Regions from separate parts of the Homo sapiens genome. Here regions 2, 3 and 4 are each linked to region 1. Evidence: promoter capture Hi-C in 16 types of primary human blood cells and fetal thymus (Javierre and others, 2016). All regions are on one chromosome and are shown on one strand. The core of a region is centred on a gene start or on the middle of the fragment in contact, and the rest is flanking DNA. Distances in the headings are between cores, read along the strand shown.

The links. The method cuts DNA at HindIII sites, captures the fragments that hold promoters and counts their contacts. A CHiCAGO score of 5 or more calls a contact.
Region 2: a contact is called between the fragment with the promoter of AMBN here and the fragment with the promoter of SLC4A4 in region 1, in 1 of 17 cell types (fetal thymus). The highest score is 6.8, in fetal thymus.
Region 3: a contact is called between a fragment that was not itself captured here and the fragment with the promoter of SLC4A4 in region 1, in 1 of 17 cell types (fetal thymus). The highest score is 9.2, in fetal thymus.
Region 4: a contact is called between a fragment that was not itself captured here and the fragment with the promoter of SLC4A4 in region 1, in 1 of 17 cell types (fetal thymus). The highest score is 5.4, in fetal thymus.

The regions. Positions count from the first base shown.
Region 1 is chr4:71,185,830-71,188,653 of GRCh38, forward strand. SLC4A4 (solute carrier family 4 member 4) reads left to right here and starts at 1,430. Exons shown (of 26, transcript NM_001098484.3): 1 at 1,430-1,572. It overlaps LOC124900712 (a long non-coding RNA gene), which reads right to left and starts at 695. Exons shown (of 2, transcript XR_007058133.1): 1 at 1-695. The HindIII fragment of the contact is 10,115 bases long and covers 1-2,824 here.
Region 2 is chr4:70,590,787-70,593,610 of GRCh38, forward strand. It overlaps AMBN (ameloblastin), which reads left to right and starts at 1,470. Exons shown (of 13, transcript NM_016519.6): 1 at 1,470-1,587; 2 at 2,541-2,609. The coding sequence starts at 1,573. The HindIII fragment of the contact is 2,262 bases long and covers 925-2,824 here.
Region 3 is chr4:70,611,017-70,613,840 of GRCh38, forward strand. No RefSeq gene overlaps it. Among named protein-coding and RNA genes, the nearest start is that of ENAM, 16 kb to the right of the region's middle. The HindIII fragment of the contact is 1,726 bases long and covers 514-2,239 here.
Region 4 is chr4:70,629,655-70,632,478 of GRCh38, forward strand. ENAM (enamelin) reads left to right here. Exons shown (of 9, transcript NM_031889.3): 3 at 2,016-2,084; 4 at 2,195-2,239. Among named protein-coding and RNA genes, the nearest start is that of ENAM, 2.3 kb to the left of the region's middle. The HindIII fragment of the contact is 2,442 bases long and covers 354-2,795 here.

The sequences.
Region 1 (2,824 bases), core at 180-2,679:
GGGGACCAGGAGCAGTTGGTATGTTAAATTATTTCTCTTGAGCTTTATGCATTTTGGTGGCTACTGTTGAAAACACAGTTTGGTCAGTGATGTCCACATACACATTACATATAATATGTATTACTAGAAAATGATATACACTTGCATGATATACCATGTGGTTGCAATCCATTAAGTGACTACTCTCTAGCAGTACCCAGAACAATAGATGGTGTGTCTGTGCTGACAGTCTGTTCATATCTTAATGGTTTACTTATGATTCAATAGTTTACCAATGGCAATGGTGCTGGATCACTGATATATTATTTGCTTGGCAAAGAGTACTTGAACCTCATTATTAGACTTAGGAACAGAATAAATACAAATAATCACTTTGCTAAGGCTGTTTTCCTAACTCCCAAGGAAGACAGAAAGGCATCAGTGACATAAGTGAAGGACACAGTTGACAACCACGTTATCTTCAGACATCTTTTGTTAAAGGTGAACAATTACTTAATACTGTGTTATGGCAGCACTCTATACGCCCCAAGTTTTATAAAGTAGAGTCAAGAGTGATCTGAGCTGGGAAACTCACGCAATTTTAGTTCTGCATGAAAGCACAGGCTCTCCCCACTGGGGAACTCTTTTGAGTAGGACAAAAAGCTGGACCTAGGACCCAGCCCAGGGCGTGAGAGAAAAGGAACCTGGGAGGCAAGAGCGGCCGGTCCGGAGCCGGGTCCTCCGCCAGCTCCGGGCGGGCGCTGCGCACAGAGCCCAAGCCCCCGGCGGAGGCGGCGCGGCTCGAGGCCCCTCCCCGCCGCCGATGCCCGGGCGGCTGACGCCGAGCAGCGGCCCGGAGCGGTGGGGGCCGGGCTGGCGGGCACGAGCGAGGGCAGGGCAGGGGGCCGGCCGAGGCCACTTACGGCTTTAAATATGGATCGCAGGCTCGCGCTCGCGGCACAGCCTCCGCCGCGGCCGCCTTCCGTGAGCCCCCGCACCCCGGCTTGCTCCCGAGGGGCGCCTGGGCTGGGCTCCACTGCTGCAGTGTTAGTTACTAGCAGGAACATCAGAGATCCCCATAAATATGCAGGAGCTGCAGGAGGCAAAGTAGAGTAGACGCCCGCGCTCTTACACACTCGCTCGCCGCGCACCACACAGGCTGTGTAGACATCCCCCCGCGCCACCTTTCCCCTTTCCTCGCGGGCCGTTCAGGTTGCAGTCCTGCCTGCTCCGAAGACCCTCCCGCCCCAGCGCCTTTGCCCCGCTCTCCCGCGCTCGCCTCTCTCCGGAGCGCGCACCCACCCAGGCGGCAAAGTTGTGACTACTTGGGCGCGGGTGACTGGCGCCCCGCTCGCTCCGCGCCCGGCGCAGACAACTTCCCGCGGCTCGGCCCCGCCGCGTCCCGGGCTCGCGCCTCCAGGGATTCCGCGGCCCCCCAGCCTCCAACCCCGGCGGCGCGCCGGGCAGCGCTTCGGTGGCGGCGGCGGCCGCGGTGGCAGCGAAGGCGGCGGCGGCGGCGGCAGTGGCAGTGGCCGCTGCAGCCCCACACTCCGCCGCCAAACTGGAGGAGCGACGGAAGCCAGACCCCAGGAGGTGAGCGCCCGGCCCCGGCAGCTGCCGGGAGGGTCGATGGGGTCCCTCGCTCCAAGGCGGAGGCGGGCGCGGGCCCGGGGGCCGATTCCGTAGGGCGCGCAGGCGGCCTCAGCGCGCTCCTGGGAGGGAGAGAGAGGTCAATTGCGGGCCGGGCATCCCCTGAGCTGGGCGCGGGCGGTGTGTGGAGGCTGCTTCCGCGGAAAAGTATTTTTTTTCCTTCTTAGGGTTTAGAGGAAGAGTTTGGGTGGTCTGCTTCTCCCTCACTGCTAAGTCCCCTGCGCGCAACTGGGCGTCTTTACGAGGACTGCGGGGCCAGTTCTGCGGCGGGCTGGGCTCGGGCTCAGTGACACGTGTGTTGCTGTGAGCCTGGGTGGTCGCCCTGTGACCAGGCACCTGCTTGAGAGGAACACATCCCTAAACCCATCACAGGGGGAGATTTGGGGACTCTTGGTGCTACCGAGGCCGCGGCCCCCACTTCACTGCCAGCTCCAGGACGGAGCATTTACATCTCTCCCTGGCACGCCAAAGGCGGGGGGTGAGTCAGGCAGATTCTCTGCAAGTGGCACACACACATTTATTTGCAATGGATTTGGCTAGGGGAGGCATAGGTTAAACTGGAATTTCTCTTGGCCAGCGACAACGGAGCTCTCCCTCAGGTACTGGGCAGCATGTGAGTCTTGGCAAAGAGAGGTGATTTCTTTTTTCTTAAGTGCATTTTACTCAGCCGTTGCCAGTCCGTTAATAAGTCACCAGAGGAAGGCAGGACCTGGGAACTACATCAGCAAACCGCAGCAAGCACCATAAAGACAAAAGTTCTTATAGAACAAAAAGAAAAACTTGAACTTGACGTGAAAGATGGAGGAAGCAGTTCTACCTCTCTTCTATCACTTTTTTCAGCGCCCTGTAAAACTGTTTTTTTCTATCCTTCCTTCCCTCTCAAGGCCCTACCTTCTCAGCATAATTGATCGCAGCAAGCTCTTTCCAACTTGACACTGAAGAGCAGCGACCCCTTTGGCTTACCCTCCCCATTTCTTTTCCTGGTTCGCTTCAGTGCCCTGGAAAGTTGCTCCTAATGAGAAATCAAGAACACTGGGCTGTACTAAACGCTCATTGTCTCAAATCCTGCAGCAGTTCCTTTCCTAAGAGACACTGTGTTGTACTGTATTTCTCTTTTTTCTTGTATCTTGGGACTTGGAGTTGTAATACTACCTGAATTAAATTAATTAAAGTGTACATTGCTCATTTGGGCTTT
Region 2 (2,824 bases), core at 220-2,719, 600 kb before region 1:
CTACTAAAAATACAAAAAAAGTTAGCCGGGCATGGTGGCGCAGGCCTGTAATCGTAGCTGCTCAGGAGGCTGAGGCAGTAGAGTCGCCTGAACCCAGGAGGCGGAGGTTGTAGTGAGCTGAGATCACACCACTGCACTCCAGCCTGGGCAACACAGCGAGACTCCGTCTCAAAAAAAAAAAAGACTAGCTTGTGGTCATTAATTATTATCCTTACATAACAGAAGAAGGAACTGGGGCTCAAAAGAGATTAAGGGACTGCATCAAGCACCAGAGACAGCATGAAAAATAATACTTTTCATTTCAATAACATTTTGCTGTTTGCAAAACACATTCACATTCTTCATTTCTTTGCATCCTAAAGATAATTCTGGTATCAGTGGAACACAGAGGTTTTCAGGAGCAGCTTCTAAGATAACATTATTTGAAGCTGTTAGGCCTACATTTGGGTATGGATACAGCTTTCTCTCAAAATACCAGCTTCCTCAATGTTCCCTGTAATTGACAAGATCCCTACTTCCCTAAAGAGTGTACTGACTCATCCCTTCTTCAGAACTAATCTTAAATGCTTATCCCTACCATATCTGAAATCACAACTTTGGAAAGACAAGGATGGGCAGAGAAGTAACAAAAGCAGCTAATATTCAATCCACATCCAAGATATTATCTGTTCACGGAGAAAAACCAATCTGTGTTGACGTTAACCTTTTAAGTGATCGAAATATGTCTTATTAACCTGGCTTGATACTAATGCCTGGGAATGTGTCTATCTGAAGAGTGAACTGACACTTGTGCCCATTGATTTGGTTCATAGAGAATGTTCTGATTTACGTCCCCGTCCCCACAGATTTTTTTTAAAATGCACCAAACGTTTACCTGAAGTAAACCTGATTCTTGCAAAGGGTCCAACTGTAGTTTCTTACAAAAGCTTGGCTATCTCTAATCAATTATCTCCAGATATGAAAATATCTAGGAAATTCAAGGAAGAAATCACACACATTAATTTTCCATCTAACATTTTAGTGTTTTCTTTTAAACTCTGTGTGTGCTGGGGGGAAGGACAGTAGTCTCTTTTACTACAACAAACAGGAGGGTGAAAACCTGAAGAATGCTAGCATTGGGTCACTAGCTTTATCTGCAGATAAAACCTGCACAAAACAGGTTTTGTTTTGCACCTATTTTACATATATTTTCCCCAGCTCACCAAAATAATTGTCTTCAGAGCCTATGTCCATTATTCCTTTACTGCCTTCCCTGCTATCAAGTTCTCTGAATAAGTACAGGGGCTGCAGTACAATTAAAAATAATGAGACCCTACTGGGCCAATGTCCCTGCACGCAATAAAAGGGTGTGGACTAATTGCAGGAGCAGAGATTCCCGCCCCAACTCCCCCCCGCCACCCCTCGCCATTTTGCTTCACTTTGATTGGTGGATTGGCACTTTAAATAAAGGTTTCTAATCTTCCCTGAATGAGAAGTACAGAGCAAGTCCCACGCACAGTCCTGAAAAAAATTTTAATCTTCTTTTCTTAGAACTATCTTGGTTGGCATCATCAGGCCCTGAGAGCACAGTGCATGTCAGCATCTAAGGTAAAATGGGATTTTATGATTTCCATGTGTTTCCTGTAAATTCTTTTTTTCCTATCTCCTGACAGCTTTTATAAAGAGGATTTATCTTCATTTGTCACCAGTAGCTGAATTATTGCTTGTTGTAATCCATTAGCATGTCCCAGAGATGACATGCCTAACACCCATTCAACTAAGAAAAAAAAAAAGACTTTTATTTATAGATTGTGTTTTTTTTAATGTTTTTGATTATAGTGCCTAATTCTTTTTAATATTAGAAGATGAGTAAATTTCTAGGCTATTCAGATCTCTATTCATGTAAGAATAAAGAGCTTTTTGAATTTATAGAATAAATTTTAAAAGATAATTCATTTTAGGAAGAGGAAAGCTAAATTTGAGACATATTTTCCACTAACATCAAAGAAAATTAAGATAGCCAATTTACTCTCATTTGAAAAGAAAAATTTTGTCATGGTTACGTAGATTACCTAAACATGCAATGATGTACCCTCTATTCCTGCAAATAAAGGTTTGTTATAAAATGACTTAGTTGCATTACATTTCACATGCATTTCAAAATGTGTCCCAAAGGGTAAGCAAAGTATAAACTTCTGTGAATAATACCTTATAGACCAATATTTTACTTAGTGGGAAGGATTTTTAAACTCATAATTCACTTTATGAAATGAAATATATCACAAAGAATATCGATGGAGGTTGTTCCTACATACTTATTTAGGCTGTAGATCCATTTAAAACGTGCTTAGATATTTTTTAATTGCTTGTTAATTTATTTCAGAAACTACTACATACAAATCGGTTGTTTAGTAACATTTAGTTTTTGTTTTTGTTCTTCTAACCTTTATCCCGGTGGTTTTTGTAAGAGCAGAGACTCAGGCTCATTTTCAAAAATTGTCTTTTAACCATTCTGAATAAAAATTCATCTGATTTAATTCTCCAACTTAATTATGTTTTAGATTCCACTTTTCAAAATGAAGGACCTGATACTGATCCTATGCCTCCTGGAAATGAGTTTTGCAGTGCCGGTAAGTCAGTCTTTAGAGTGTGTCCCAGAAAAGGTTATTGATTGTCGAACTCCAAACAACACTGAAGGGATATGGACTGAGAGTCCACGCATAGACTCACTTGATTTAATCCAGTGGTTTAGTCCTATTGAGTCAAAAGCCATAGTTGCTCAGATGTCAGTCTTGCAATCCAAAAGCGGTAAGTGATAGCCGGGTGCGGTGGCTCACGCCTGTAA
Region 3 (2,824 bases), core at 127-2,626, 570 kb before region 1:
AGCCAGGCATGGTGGTGCCTGCCTGTGGTCTCAGCTACTTGGGAGGCTGAGGTAGGAGGATAATTTGAGCCCAGGATGTGGAGGTTGCAGTGAGCTGTGATCACGCCATTGCACTCCAGCTTGGGTGACAGAGTGAGATCCTGTCTCAAAAAATAAAGATCAAAATAAAAAATAAATTAAAAAAAAGGCCGGGTGCAGTGGCTTACACCTGTAATCCCAGCACTTTGGGAGACCAAGGCAGGTGGATCACTTGAGGTGAGGAGTTTGAGACCAGCTTGGCCAACATAGTGAAACCCCATCTATACTAAAAATACAAAAATTAGCTGGGTGTGGTGGTGTGTGCCTGTAATCCTAGCTACTCAGGAGGCTGAGGCAGGAGAATTGCCTGAACCCAGGAGGTGGAGGTTGCAGTGAGCCGAGATCGCGCCACTGCACTCCAGCCTGGGTGACAGAGCAAGACTCCATCTCAAAAAAAAAAAAAAAAAAAAATCTGTTTCTCATCTTACTTCTATAAGCTTTAACCAGTAAATATGAGGCTTTTAAGGTTCAGAACCACTTCCTAATAACCCCCCATCTTACACATTCTCCCTACTTAATTGCCTCAGGTCCCTCTGATAGTGGCTTAGGGAAACTATCATGGTATACAATTTGGCCACATTTCAAGGTTCTTCCTCATAGGAACCTGATGTCCCCTCAGTTGAGGGGCTTTAGGTCTGGAAACTAGATAAGAAACTATACATCCCACCACAGCAATTTGAGTTAGGCTCAGTGAATGTAGAATTTTTTTTTTGTCTTTTTATGTCAAGCAGCACATTTATGTCAAGCGGAAAGTGGACAATCAATGTAGGACAGGATGTCTATCTATTTTTTCCTATAGACCTGTGATGAAGTAGCCATCATACAGAACCCTATTGGTCAAAACATGCTGCTTAGCATTCCATCCTGTGGCTTATTGGTCATTGCATCCTTGTCTCTGAAAGATAAGCACCACCCCCTGGCCTCTGTCTACTATTTCAGACTCCTATTTTTCCCATTGAAATTCAAAAGCAGCATCCCTCGTTATCATATCTGGTCCACAGAGAAAAACTACAGTCTTCGTTTCTTAATGCCTTAGTGAAGAAAGCGTTGTCTGGGCTCTTCTGAGTAGAAAAGGGTGAAGAGTGAATCTAGAGGAGTAAATGCAATACAGTCAGCCCTCCATATCCAGGGGTTTTTCATCTGTGGATTCAACCAACTGCAAATGAAAAATGTCATTGGATCTACAATGAACATGTACAGACTGTTTTTCTTGTCATTATTCTCTAAACAATACAGTGTTAAAACTATTCACAGAGCATTTACATTGTATTAAGTATCATAAGAAATCTAGAGTTGACTTAAAGTATTTGGGAGTATGTACATAGGATATATGCAAATACTATTTCATTTTATATAAAGGACTCGAGCATCTGCAGATTTTGGTATCCTCAGGGAGGTCCTGGCAATCCCCCACAGATACCAAGGTATGACTGTACATCCATTATGCCAATGTGTCAGGTGTGGCACACCTACCATTGGTGTAAAGACAATAATCTTTATGTAGTAAATTAATAACATTTTTAAAATTTACCTCATGTGATGCTGGTTTTCCATTTACAGACGCACAAAACAGATTTCTTTTAAAATAGATTTTCTTAAGTGATGAGATGTAAGAAAAAATATTAAGTAAATAGAACAGGTTGTGATTGGATATGGCAATAATCATAAAGACAGTCCATAAATGACTATGTACATGAATGAACTTTGGGAAAACATTGATTGATTTAATTCAACCTCCTCATTTATGGGTGAGGAGACTAAAAGTCCAGAAGAGTAAGGTCTTTTTTGAAGTTTTGGCTGCTATTGGAGGCAGAAGAACCCAAGCCTCTGGATTTCCCATTTGTCACTCGTCCACACAGATCCTCCACAGCACTGAAGTATTCTTTTGAGAACCTAATGAAAGCTGTGAATTATTATTCCCAAAAACGTAAATGGAAACAACACGTAAAATTCTGCCTACAATGTCAGCGATTACTCAGACAGCCTAAAGTTCATTCACGGACCTAAAGTTAAGCAACCCTCATCTAATCATTTAAATACCCACCAATGTGGAGTGTTATACAAGATGAAGCAAATATTTAAACTGACCCAGGCTAAGTGTCTGAATTTTTCTAGAACTCAATAACATTGTCTTTGGGAAAATGAGTCTTAAACACATAAAAGCTTTGAACTTCTAAGTGTGTTTCTCTTCCTTCCAAAACTTCTCAGTACTAAAAAAGTTGACTTCTATAGACAGTATGTGGCTACCAGTCAAGTGACATCAACAGACAGACTGCTGCATTTTACAAAGAGAAAGATCAAACCAGAAGTTTAGTTGATTTCTTTCTTCCATAAACATTAGAGACTGGGGGTAAAGTAGAAACAGCAGCAACCACACTTCACAGAAGCCAGACGTTAGAAACACAAATTCCAGCTTTGAGGAATGATTATTATAAAGCTGTTTGTCATAATAACTTTTGCTGATGCCTTCAGCTGTCTCCCTGCACTTTCATCTTTCCCCAGGGTTCAGCAGCTTTCCAGCTGGAGACCCGCGCCTAACAACCGGTTTGATAATTACTTAAAGATAAGCTCTAGCGAGCACAGAGAAGGAAATGACCGTGGGTTTTTCAGAGTGAATGTGGATTTGCATTCTAATTTATTCACAAACTAGAAATGTATGGGTGTTATTTAAAGATGTGTTTTGGAAAAACTGACATAAAAAAGATCAACCCTGAAGTTATATGTCTAGCACGCTTTGGGTATCTTT
Region 4 (2,824 bases), core at 325-2,824, 560 kb before region 1:
AAGACTCAAAGAGCATCTGCTTTCACAGATGGAATGGAAGAAGAACTTACACAGTCATTGTACTTTGTGGCAATCATTATGAGTGTTACTTTCAACTCAAAAAATAACTAATTATAGACTTTAATCACTAACTTTTAGAGATGGAAGGGATCTCAGTCATCCAACATAATATATTAATTTTACAAAAGAGAAAATGAGTTTTCTATTTGCAAATATAAAGGCTACATATATTATCAAGAATCACTGTGACAGCTACTAGAGAGATGAGATGAATGATTAAGCAAGGCAGAAATTAACCATCCAAAAGCACCCTTAAATCTTGGGCCATAATCTTAGAAACATTTAGCAAAGAAAGCTTTCACCAGTATTCTCTTTATTAGTTTCCACATATTGTTGTAACCTATACTAAACACTCTAAAATAACATTCAGCTGTTATTTTCATTCTCTATGATGTTCTAACTCTGAAAATCTTTAAATAGTAGGAAAGGTATTTACATACTACTGCTTCCTTTGTTTAATTACATTCTGCCAATTTTTCTAATGTATGAAAGATAACTGATTACACCCACAATTTAGGAAAATGTCCATTATAAAAATGCTAAAGCGTCATTTATGTTGCTCCTATAGGAAGTAAACAGAAGGGTGAGCATTGGCTCCAATTATGCTAGATAGATTTTATGTCCAGAAAAGGAAGAAAGAATGAAAGGAATGAAAACAACTGAGTGTCTACATGTTGGTTACTCTGCTAGGAAATGGACTATATCTGATATACGATGAAAATGAATCATTCTGATTAAAACCTTTTATTTTCCTCTATTGTATATGCAAATAGAAAGTTTTCTTAAGAAATTACTCAAGTAAATGTTTCAGAATAAACCTTGTTCCAAGATGTAAATACGAGACTTAATTTTACAAGTCTTTCATAATTAACTAGAGTGGGATAAATGAATGAACCCCGTTAAAAACAATCTCCAAACTTCATACATAAGTCTATATGTTTAATCAAGGTATCTAATAAAGAGATAAATTTACTATTCTGCCTATTTCCTATTTCTTCCTATTTTCCTGACCATCTTAGAGCATAAGTGATTTTTTTTTTTTTTTGAGACAGAGTCTCACTCTGTCGCCCAGGCTGGAGTGCAATGGCACGATCTTGGCTCACTGCAACCTCCTCCTCCTGGGTTCAAGCGATTCTCCTGCCTCAGCCTCCCAAGTGGCTGGTATTACAGGTGTGAGACACCACACCCGGCTAATTTTTGTATTTTTAGTAGAGACAAGGTTTCACCATGTTGGCTCAGCTGGTCTCAAGCTCCTGTCCTCAGGGGATCCACCCACCTCAGCCTCCCAAAGTGATGGGATTAAGGCGTGAGCCACCGCGCCTGGCCACATAAGTGATTTTTAAAGGAAGTGATGATGATGATAATAATAATAACAGGAACAATAGAGGAAACCAGGAAAAAAATAAGATTCTGCATATTCCAGTTTACTTAGTCTCTATATAACAGAATATTATCTATAACATCTTAGAAAGTAGCACAAAGTTTTGATTTTGGAGTGTGCCCTCCTTGAAACTGAGATTATTCTGTACAATGAATGTAGTTGGACATCACTATTTCTTTATAAATCAACTAGTAACTAGAAACTCAAACCCATTAATATTCCTATTTGGGGGATAACCTCCTAATTTCTAATTTTCACATTCTGGTGCTATGATATCTCTCTCTTTCTCTCTCTCTCTGTCTCTCTCTCTTTCCCTGTCTCTCTCTTTCCCTGTCTCTCTCTCTCACGCACACACACTTATATTTCCTTTTAATCTGACTCTTTTGGCAGCTTGAAAAGTACCAGATGATAACTATCTAATAGTTTCTTGACATAAAATAAAACTGGCAGCAGGGGCCCCATCCATTTCCATACTCTCCTTGACAGACAAGTAGGCTAGTACTTAGATAAGTGCAGAGTGCCCTAAGCATACTTATTTCACAGACCAAAAATAAAAATCAATTTTTTATTCTAGGTACCAAAAGGCAAAATGAAGATTCTCCTGGTCTTTCTAGGGCTTCTTGGTAATTCTGTTGCTATGCCAGTGAGTATTTTTTAAATGTTAGCTCTTCTCTTTGTGTTCCGTTAGGAACAATTGTTGAGCTTATTTCAACTGATGTTCTGCATTTGTCACTGACATTCTCTTACTTCCAGATGCACATGCCCCGAATGCCTGGATTTAGCAGTAAAAGTGAGGAGGTATGTACGTTCAGTCTCAGAGGAGAAGTTATCCAGAGTCCTATCCTACACATTTACTAAAAAGGAGAATATTGGAAAATTGTCTCATATATAATATTTCTTATGAAAAAGGTAAAAAGAGGGAGATTTGAAAGTCTTAAACTCTCAAATCGAGGCAAAGTAGTAATTTCCCCAGCCATCAGCCTACCTATGTACTTCAGTGTTCCTTTTCAAGGTAGATGTGGATTTGTGTTAAAATCTAGTTGATGTTACCTTATCTGCTAAGTTTTTTAGCTAGCAAAAGTGACCAATTGTACCAAGGGTTATTAGAAGGTAGATGCTTAAAAATAGAAATACCTTTCACATGACTCATATCCCAGATCATTAATCAAATTCAATACATATCAGAAAGATGAATCATCTTGTCACATAATTCTCATGTTCTCAAATCCTGAACTCAAAAAGAATAGAACAGAACATTCAAAAACTTTACAGTAGATCAGACTTTTATTTTCTATGATTCTCTATTGATTATTCTCAAAATAAAATTCTGACTTAAAAGTTAAACTGCCTGAGAAGCTTCTTTAATTGTATACTTTCTTAAAA